Regions from separate parts of the Homo sapiens genome. Here all the other regions are linked to region 2. The links are contacts of gene promoters, found by promoter capture Hi-C in human tissues and cell types (Jung and others, 2019). All regions are on one chromosome and are shown on one strand. Each heading gives the region's core, a stretch centred on a gene start or on the middle of the fragment in contact. The rest is flanking DNA. Distances are from core to core; before and after follow the strand shown. Region 1 overlaps AGBL1 (AGBL carboxypeptidase 1). Region 2 holds the start of NTRK3 (neurotrophic receptor tyrosine kinase 3). Region 3 overlaps AGBL1 (AGBL carboxypeptidase 1).

Region 1 (3,017 bases), core at 193-2,692, 1.4 Mb after region 2:
GAGATTGCTTTTTATTTTTTCAACATGTTGCATGTCACAATTCCATTAATTTCTGTCACCCCACCAATATCTACTAGTGGTTCACAGGCCTTACTTTTTAGTAGTTTTGTTGGACATAAGCCCAGATATAAACCAGACAGTGCGAAGTCACAGAATGAAGATTTTCTCTTTAATGAATTCCCAGGGTGAGTGGAAATCAGTTTAATGTCGTTCTAGATAGTCATATTTCGTTACAACATCCTCTTCACGAATGCTTTACACGCCTATGTTTTTAAAGCATTAATTTCTAGTTTTAAACCACTAGATTCGAAAGTACTTAGAATTATGTGATAGTTGAATGTGTCCCTTGTGCAACACCCTTGTGGGGAAGTGGACATTTCTTCCATGATTTCTAGTCACTAAACCTGAAAGAATTCCCTTAGCTTGGTGCTAAAAGTCATAAAGGATTTTCTAATTGCTATATAAACAAGACTTCTCATCTAGAAAGACCCAAGAGGTTACAGTCTTGTGTGGCTTGGTTAGCTATATGCAAGCTTTGTGCTATACAGTTAGTGCCACATATGAATAGTCCTCTGGCGACCTCACAGGGTTTGAAGCTTTTCTTGTGACCCATTAAACCAAATCATCTTCACTCTACGTCCATGGCTGTTCCTTTGCTTCTTGCCTATTTTTTCATGTTTTTTTTCATGTACGTTTCATGTGTCTTCAACTCTACCTGATGACCGATGTTCAACTTCATCTGATGTTACATCCTGACCTCTCACAGACCGGATTAGCCACATTGATAATTCCTTATTTTGAAAAACTGTAAAATATACACAATCTGACATCTCTTGGATCATGGCCCCAATATATGATCTGGATTCAGGCATTTATGAAACACCAAAATAAGGGCTCACCTCTCTGTAACGATTGCTATTTCCTTTATTCCCTATTATAAAATAATCTGGGTTCATTGGGATATCTGTATATTGGACGGCCATGGATAAACTTAGAAATTTGCATTTAAGGAGACAAATTAGTACCTCAGATCTTTAAAGTCAATCCTATCCATTTCCTCAGCTTTAAGTTACAGCTGCTAATTGATTTCCCTCTGCTTTCATACCAACATATATCCTACTTCTTTTAAATGTCTATTTATTTTTGCACAGTGCCATGAACAATAAAATTGAGCCTAAAATATCTAGCACTATAAGCCCCACCTAGTCCGGGTGCATTTTGCCATTTTATTGTTCTCCCCGCCTCACAGGTTCACTCACATGACATGTTTCTATTTCAAGTATAACACAATGAGTCTTCACCAAAGCATCAAAGCCCATTACTGAAAACAAAATTAAACACGTCCAGTGTAATTTAATGCTTAATTTTTTAAAAAAACTGTTGTTTTCACTCCTGCCACATACAGAATCCCTCATCCTCGGGGCAAGCAGTAAGTGGAAACATGTACCACAAAACGCAGAAAGTTATTCTCTCCTACCTAGTAGGTGAGTTGATTTGTAAAATGTAAAGTTAGCATAATGTCAACTCTTGGCAAAAGGAAAATTGAAGTACCAGCACATCAAGTGTGGTTTTGAGGGAAGTGTTATGCTGTGACCAACGTGGGTAAAGAAAAAAAATGAGGGCTGAGTAAACCTTCAATGAGTTCTATAATTGTACCTACCATTTATGATTGTGAAATACAATTCCCCCACCCCCAAGAAAAGGATAAAGCTTAAGTCCTGACAGCATGAGATGCAAGTGTGTTTATGACATGACCCCTCTTCTTCCTCATTACTCACTCCACTCCCAAACTCCATGCCACAGCCACACTGATATGATAGATGTCTCCTAGGAGTGTCTCACCATCTCAACTCATGCCCTTGCAGACATTAGTTAATCAAATGGGACCTCTGTTCTGCATCTTGCCTAACTTCAATCCATTCTTGCAAATGCTCTACTGATACTCTCTTCTCTGGGAAGCTTTTCTGACTTCTACAGTCTCTGTCAGATGGGCAAATAGTGGACTAAGCATAGTTCTATTTAACAAATGCTTGAGATGGAGTCTTGCTCTGTCCTCAGCTCACTGCAACCTCTGCCTCCCAGGTTCAAGCAATTCTCCTGCCTCAGCCCTGAGTAGCTGGGACTACAGGCATGTACCACCATGCCTAGCTAATTTTTGTGTTTTTAGTAGAGACGGGGTTTTACCATGTTGGCCAGGCTGGTCTTGAACTTCTGACCTCAAGTGATCTGCCTTCCTCAGCCCTCCAAAATGCTGGGATTACAGGCTTGAGCCACCACACCCGGCCAGAGGTAGTATTCTATTTATTGTTGATTTGCCAGCATCTAGAAAAATGCCTCCTTTGGGAAAGAGTAGGTGCTCAATAATTGTTTTCTGAAAGACTTATGCAAGAAGTAGATGACTGTTGTATTAACCATCATTCCCCCAACCTGGTTTTGTCACAGAAACAAGATCACAGTTTGCATACCTCCTTTGAGGGTGTGATCAATGCCATAGCGACATGAAGTAAATATGGCTCAGGCCATCAATGGAACTGAAGTCCAACCAACAATTCAAGAATAGTACCTGAGGAAATGGTATATAGGCAATGATAATGGTCACTATTAAAATACCCATTGTCCTTCATTTGTCAAGATGACTTTTCTAATTCCTTCAATGGAATGTTTATTTTGAGTCATAATCCAGTTATGAGAAGAAAAATGATCTTATTTTTATATTCAGAGTTATGATGAAAGGAAATTGTGGTTTGAGAATTTAGAAGGGAGCCAAAAAGAATGGCAGAGTAGATGACAAAGATGTTTCTTACAGTGCAACTTGGGGGGAAGGGAAAGATGGCTGAGGCAAGGTCATCTGGATGTTAGAATGATAATGAAAATGATAATGATAACAGCTAAAAGATACCAAGCACTTGGTTATATGCCAGACCTAGAACTAAACACTTCATATGCATTAACTCATTTAATCTTCTCATAAACCTGTGAAGGATTGAAGCACAGGGAGTTAAAGCTACTCATCCCAA
Region 2 (3,123 bases), core at 46-2,545:
TCGGACTCCCCTAACCCTTTCTTCTCCTTTCCCACAGCGAATGCTCGTTTTTTTTTTTTTCAGCAAACAGCTCACACTTGGCATCTTTATGTTTTATTAAGAAAAAAATCCCTACCAGCGCAAAAGCGGGGCCCCCCCCACACACACTTCTTTCCCGGATGAGATCTGAGCTCTCGTCGAAAGCTGCACCTGCTTTGCGTCCCTACCAGGAAGGGGTGCTTGTGTGGGAGGGAAGGAGGAGGTTCTGCGCCCCCGAATCCGGAGAAAGCAGCCCGCCCGCCCCCTCACCCGGCAGCCAGCTCAGCTCACCCGAGAGCTGAGCCCGAGAAGCCGGCCTCTGACGGTGCTGGCGTGGCGCTTGCCAAAATATGCCCCTTGCATCTCAATTTCCCCCGGCCATTTCTCTTGCACGCACAGCTCGCCCGGGGCCACCTCGGCTCTCCAGCGCAGCCCTTTCGACCCCTGTTTCTTCCTTCCCCGATCCATGCCTGCTCAAGGCCGAATGCAAAACCCACCTCCAAGAAAGCGCAGCGGGCACGGGGGGCACCTAGCGTGCCATGTCCCGCAGTCCCCTCCCAGCCAAGACCAGAGCCCCAGACTCTAGATTACGGAAATGAGTGTCATTCAGACCAAGGACTGCGCGTCTGCGGTCCCGGTCCCCGGCTCTGGGTGCTTCTCTGGGGTGTCTGTGCGCTCCGGCACCCCCCGTCGCCGTCCGTGAGCCTGCGCCCCCCACCCACCCAGGCTTGGGAGCGCCCCCCACCCAAGGCTTGGGAGCACTCCCCAATCACCTCCGCCACGTTCATTTCACTTCCTACCGCGGTCCGGATTGCAGCAAAACCGGGTAGCGCGAGGGCCAAAAAGTGGAAAGGAGAGCGCCTTTCCGTGTCGTGCAGCCAGCTCGCCAACTCTCCCTCCCCAGCCCCGACCCTCGCAATCTCAAATGCAACTTTTTCCCTTCGGTCTCGGTTTCCCCCGGGCTGCGGCTAGCGGGCGCCGCGCTGCGAGGCGTGGAGCGGGCGGGCTGCCGCGAGGCTGCGGGTGGCGGTGCCGGCTACAGCCGCGAGCCGGCGAGTGGGTGGGTGGGTGGGTGGGGAGGAGGGAGAGGACAGGCGGGGAGAGAGACGGGTGTGGGGAGGGGAGGGAGGGGGAGATTCCGCTCTCCTGCCGCTCCCAGCCCGGGCGGGGGGCGGGGGGAGGAGGCCGCGACGAGGGAGGGGAGGAGGGAGGGAGGAAGGGAGGGAGGGAGCCGAGGAAGACGCTCCGATAACCCGTGCGTTTCGTAAGGCTCGGAGCACTTGTACATTTCTGCAGCCGCGCGGCGAGCCATTCGCGGCGGCTGCTGCAGCTCCTACTGCATCTTCCTTCTCTTCCTTTCCTCGGGCTCCGGGTGTGTGTATGTGTGAGAGTGAGTGTGTGTGTTTTGCAGGTGCGTGGTGTGTCCGTTTTAATTCTGCCCAGTAGGTGGGACTTGGTGACTTTAGCACCATTTTTTCCTTTTCCTTTTTTTTTTTTGCCTCCCCACCGTCTGTTGCAACCCTGCAAAGTCTCGGAGTCGGAGAGCGCGCCTCGCTTCCAGAGCCCCCGGACCCGGCGAGTCAGCGATCGCCGAGCCGGCCACCATGCCCGGCAGACCGCGCCACTAGGCGCTCCTCGCGGCTCCCACCCGGCGGCGGCGGCGGCGGCGGCGGCGTCCGCGATGGTTTCAGACGCTGAAGGATTTTGCATCTGATCGCTCGGCGTTTCAAAGGCAGAGGCCCCCCCTCCCCCTTCCCCCCTCCCTCGCCGTCTTTGTTTCCTTCCCCCCCTGCTCTCCCCACTCCCCCCACCCCACCCCCCTCTCCTCTCCTCCTCCTCTTTTTTAGAAGCAGCGATCGGAGATGGATGTCTCTCTTTGCCCAGCCAAGTGTAGTTTCTGGCGGATTTTCTTGCTGGGAAGCGTCTGGCTGGACTATGTGGGCTCCGTGCTGGCTTGCCCTGCAAATTGTGTCTGCAGCAAGACTGAGATCAATTGCCGGCGGCCGGACGATGGGAACCTCTTCCCCCTCCTGGAAGGGCAGGATTCAGGGAACAGCAATGGGAACGCCAGTATCAACATCACGGACATCTCAAGGAATATCACTTCCATGTAAGTCAGGCGGCCGCTCCCCAGCCTGCCTCCCCCGCGCTCTGCGTCTCCCTCCTGCCCACCCGCGGCCGGGAGCCGGCCCTCCGCCCGCCCCAGCTCGCCGCTGCCCGCCGCCCGCTGGGCGCGCGTCAGGCTCGCTCTGGCTCGGGAGATGCTCTCCGGCTGCGCATTCCAGGTGACTCCGGCCCTGGCGAGGCGCGATCCGGCTATGCGTGTGTGTGCCTCTCCCCGGAGAGGACCCCGGCCGCCGAGGGCACGCGGGGCCCAGCTACCGCCCGCCTCCCAACCAGTTGCTGGCTCGTTTCGATGGTGCAAATTGTTTTTTTTTGCTCCCCACTAAATAGCAACAGTTTGGCCACGCTCAAGTGGAATAAAGTAGACGAGGTTCGATTCTTTGGCAGAGGCGGCAGCGGCGGTGGCAGCGGCGGCAGCGCTTAGCCGGCAGGGAAGGTGACAGATAGGGACTGCTCGCGATCCAGCCGAGGTGTTTAACTATTTCCATTTGGAAACAGCAAAACATGCTGACAAGTAAACAAGTTGCGAGCTGGCTGCTCGCGGGGAGACTTTGGACGTGTGGAGGCCGTCATGGACGCCTACCTCTTCCCTTCCCCTCCTGCAGCCCGCCCTCTCCAGCCCCATTTTGGGCATTTCCGAGACACCCCTTTGCCACCCTCATCTGCATCTGGGCGCCTACAGATCCCTTCCCAGTTTGGGCTTTGATAACTGCTCGGAACTATTCCGAGTCAGGATGGCGCAGGGAGAGGAGAGGGCGTGTGTTTTGAGGAGAGGGGTTTCTTGTGTGATCGTGCGGATCGGTTCATTTGGAACATTCAACTCTGGCTGGCTTTTGCTTGGTTCTGCCCCCTCCGAGGGAGACCAGTGGTGGCCTGCTCTTTTCTCCTTGCTATTTTTCTTTGGTGGGGATGGCAGCAGACGCAAAGGAGAGGACAGATCGAGGGCTGGGGACTGGAGAGTCTGCTCCTCTTTTCTTTCGT
Region 3 (3,301 bases), core at 259-2,758, 1.4 Mb after region 2:
GATTCTGATTTAAATGGTCCAGGGTGAAGTCTGTGCACTTTAAAAGTTCCCCAGTTGATTCTAATATGCAACCAGGCCTGAGAGCCACTGCTTCAAACCTTTGCAATAGGCAAGATGCCTTCTAGGTAGGAGATAAGGGATCTACTCCATAGCAGCCTGCCTCATTCCTCTTCCCTGCTTCCAGGAAAGAGGTTCACAGGATGGCTTGTTGAGCCCTCCATTACATGTTGACCTGGGGTAACCAGCCATAGGCCTGCTCAGTGAAAAAAGCCCTGGGGCATTTAGAACCCCTCAAGGAATGTAGGAAGGATATTTTTAAATGAAGATAATGTACCTTGCAAAAAGAGGCATTGGGAGATCAGCTTCAGTGTTAAGTCACATAATCTATATAGTGTCTGGGGGCTTGCAGGTGGATCAGAATAGAGTTTCCAGATAGCAGGGGATGTCGTAAAGTGATTTAGGAGACTCTCAGGAAATGGACTGATATGGTTTGGCTCTGTGTCCCCACCCAAATATAATCTCCAATTGTAATCCACATGTGTCGAAGGAGGGACATGTACTCTCAGTGTGTGGAGAGAGGGAGGTGTTTGGATCGTGGGAGCAGTTTCCCCCATGCTGTTCTCACAATAGTGAGTGAGTTCTCACAGGACCTGATGGTTTTATAAGTGTCTGGCATCTTCTCTGCTTGCACTTCTTTCTCTCCTGCCCCTTGTGAAGAAGGTGCCTGCTTCCCCTTCCACCATGATTGTAAGTTTCCTGAGGCCTCTCCAGCCATGCGGAACTGTGAGCCAATTAAACCTCTTTCCTTTATAAATTACTCAGTGTCGGGTAGTATATTTATAGCAGTGTGAATACGGATGAATACATGGACCATCCATTCATCCATCCAACAGTGTTTATGTAGTAGTTCCCCTGCAGTAGCTGCCATGACAATGGTGAGCAAAACAGATGCAGTCGTCTTTTTACAACTAAACAATAAAAAATAAAAAATAAAAACCTGCCACTGCTGCAGGAAAACCATTCACCACAATGAGTCTGAACTTCCCACTACCTCCCTCTTTCCATATGAAATTCAAATCTCTGTTGGCCATTCCAGCAACTCGTGGAGAATATCTCCTGCATCCTTCATGTGTGCACACTTCTCAGGGACCCCACTGCTCACCATCCCCATGCCTTCCCCATCCAGGTTCAAGTTAATGCCCTGCCTTTCTTTCCTGCTACTGCCCATGCCTAGGCCCAGATTCTTTATTTATCAAGCTAGTTACCACTCTAGAGACTCTGAGGATGGAAGAATTTGCGGGTTTCATGAGTCAGATAGAACTAATCTTTGCAGATTTTATTGGAAAAACTTGCTCTTATAATAAAGATGTTTTCAGGAAATTCTGGGGATACAGAAAGTTGTGCCCACTGAATGGGTTTGATATATATCTTACCATTTCAAACAGACCTCCTGTTCTCAATGCCCAGGGAAGAGCAATGATGCTGTGTTCTTGACCAGGTGATGGACCTTTCTGTCCTCACTGTTTGCCCCCATCAAAACTGTTTAAAGCCCCCTCCTACAGGGTTAGGTGGGCAGAGTGAGCCAGTTCTAGTAGACTTGGTTTTGAGCTAGAATCAGTTCCTGCCCCAAATCCTAGAGATTTATAGTCTCAGGAATCAGAGAACCCATAGGTCCAGCTTTCAATTTTCTCCCAGGGCTTTATATGCAGCACTCCTTTCTTCCACTTCTTGCCCTCTTTCCCAAAATAGTAGATGAGGGTGACGCTATCAGGAAAGCACTTAGAAGGGATAAGAGCAAGTGATCTTTCCATTGCTGTGATTGGTGACATCACTCACCCTTAATCAGAAGGTCTAAAGCAACTTATAAATCCAGTCCCTTCAATAATTGACCAAAAAGCCTCTCCAAATGCATTATAGAAGTGATGGCAGAAAATTATTATTGATTTCCTATACTCCAGTTTCTTTATCAATAAAATGGGCATGGCAATAATTAATAAAATATTATGCTTCACACAGTATCTAAGTAATATAAATATTACCTATTACTATCAATGTTGACCAGAAGGAAACTATCTTTTCATTTTGTTTTGTTTTGTTTTTTAGCTTTTGGAATGATTACATGATATGCAGCATAGTAAGTAAATACTTGCTATATGACAAGTATTTTTTTCAGCATTTCTATTATCTCATTTAAGCCATACAACAATATATCATACAGGTATTCTTATCACTCCCATTTTATAGTTAAAGGAAATGGTCAAGGTTAATTTAGGTAACCCTATCAATAATGATTCTCTGTGTTAATAAGAATGTTTGGCAGAGCCCAGAGGAAATGAGGGTGGGAGGAAGATGGGTTTTGATGCAGAAAGAATTATCTGGAACAGGAGCAAACAAAACAAAGACAGGCAATGTGGGCGCAGTGGGGCACCCATGGTGTGAGGACGATTGGGTACTTGGTTCTTTGGCAAAGATCTGTTTATAAAATGGCATGTAGTCGGTGCTATAGGAAATGTGTGAAAAACAGGAAGGGGGCAGGAGCAGAGATAAGACTGGGAAGTCAAATAAAGCAATGCATATTGGTAATTTCTCCAACATTTAATCCATGCCATGTACAGACACTTTTTAATAAAATAATGGATGAAGAAATGAATAAGTAATGTCCATAGCCTAAGGCAGCAAGAATGTGACATCTTGCTACTTATCAAGCCTTGAAAATGACTGTCCCTTTTGAGCCCAGTTATCAGTACATTTCAGCTCCACTAAATAGGTGTTTTACACATGGGAAACAGCTGAACAGAGTTCTCTTATCATTTCCATTGAATGCGATTGGGTTGAGGGAGATTGAGCAACACACCAGCACATAGGTGACTACCTTTATGCAATGGAAACTACAAAGCAATAGCATTAAAGTTCCTAGGCCAAAATGACTGAACAGCATAGGAATGGAAAGATTAACAATTTTTTTCTTATTTTCCAAATTGTAAAAGACCAAAAAGACCAGCTCCTTCTATGACTTCTCATTAAAATTAAAGCGTGATGTCGACAGAGGCCTTACTCACTCTGTTTCTAAAGCAAGCACAGTGTTGCTGAGGCAGGAGAACCTTGCTGTCCTGAATGCTACCCAGCACACGCTGCCTAGGATGAGGATCTGGGCACAGAAGCTAATGGGAATCGCCCCTGCGGAGCACAGATACTAAGCCTGGCATAATCTGTGCCATGCCTGTCACTTCTGGAGCCTGTGAAAGAAACTGGCCAGAGCTGCTACTCTCTCTATTCTAGATATAATTCCACTTTTATCCAT

Evidence for each region. The method cuts DNA at HindIII sites, captures the fragments that hold promoters and counts their contacts. A contact is called where the count stands out against the background at its distance.
Region 1: a fragment that was not itself captured here is called in contact with the fragment with the promoter of NTRK3 in region 2 in 1 of the 25 tissues and cell types used here (dorsolateral prefrontal cortex).
Region 3: a fragment that was not itself captured here is called in contact with the fragment with the promoter of NTRK3 in region 2 in 1 of the 25 tissues and cell types used here (dorsolateral prefrontal cortex).

Annotation. Positions count from the first base shown.
Region 1 is chr15:86,865,840-86,868,856 of GRCh38, reverse strand. All of the region lies in intron 22 of AGBL1 (AGBL carboxypeptidase 1), which reads right to left. Among named protein-coding and RNA genes, the nearest start is that of AGBL1-AS1, 550 kb to the right of the region's middle. The HindIII fragment of the contact is 3,305 bases long and covers 1-3,017 here.
Region 2 is chr15:88,254,911-88,258,033 of GRCh38, reverse strand. It overlaps NTRK3 (neurotrophic receptor tyrosine kinase 3), which reads left to right and starts at 1,295. Exons shown (of 20, transcript NM_001012338.3): 1 at 1,295-1,390; 2 at 1,548-1,750; 3 at 1,866-2,128. The coding sequence starts at 1,881. All of the region lies in intron 1 of NTRK3-AS1 (NTRK3 antisense RNA 1), which reads right to left. RefSeq lists enhancers at 2,077-2,613, 2,614-3,123. The HindIII fragment of the contact is 6,423 bases long and covers 1-3,123 here.
Region 3 is chr15:86,849,619-86,852,919 of GRCh38, reverse strand. The region is part of intron 22 of AGBL1 (AGBL carboxypeptidase 1); the gene reads right to left. Among named protein-coding and RNA genes, the nearest start is that of AGBL1-AS1, 530 kb to the right of the region's middle. The HindIII fragment of the contact is 6,895 bases long and covers 1-3,301 here.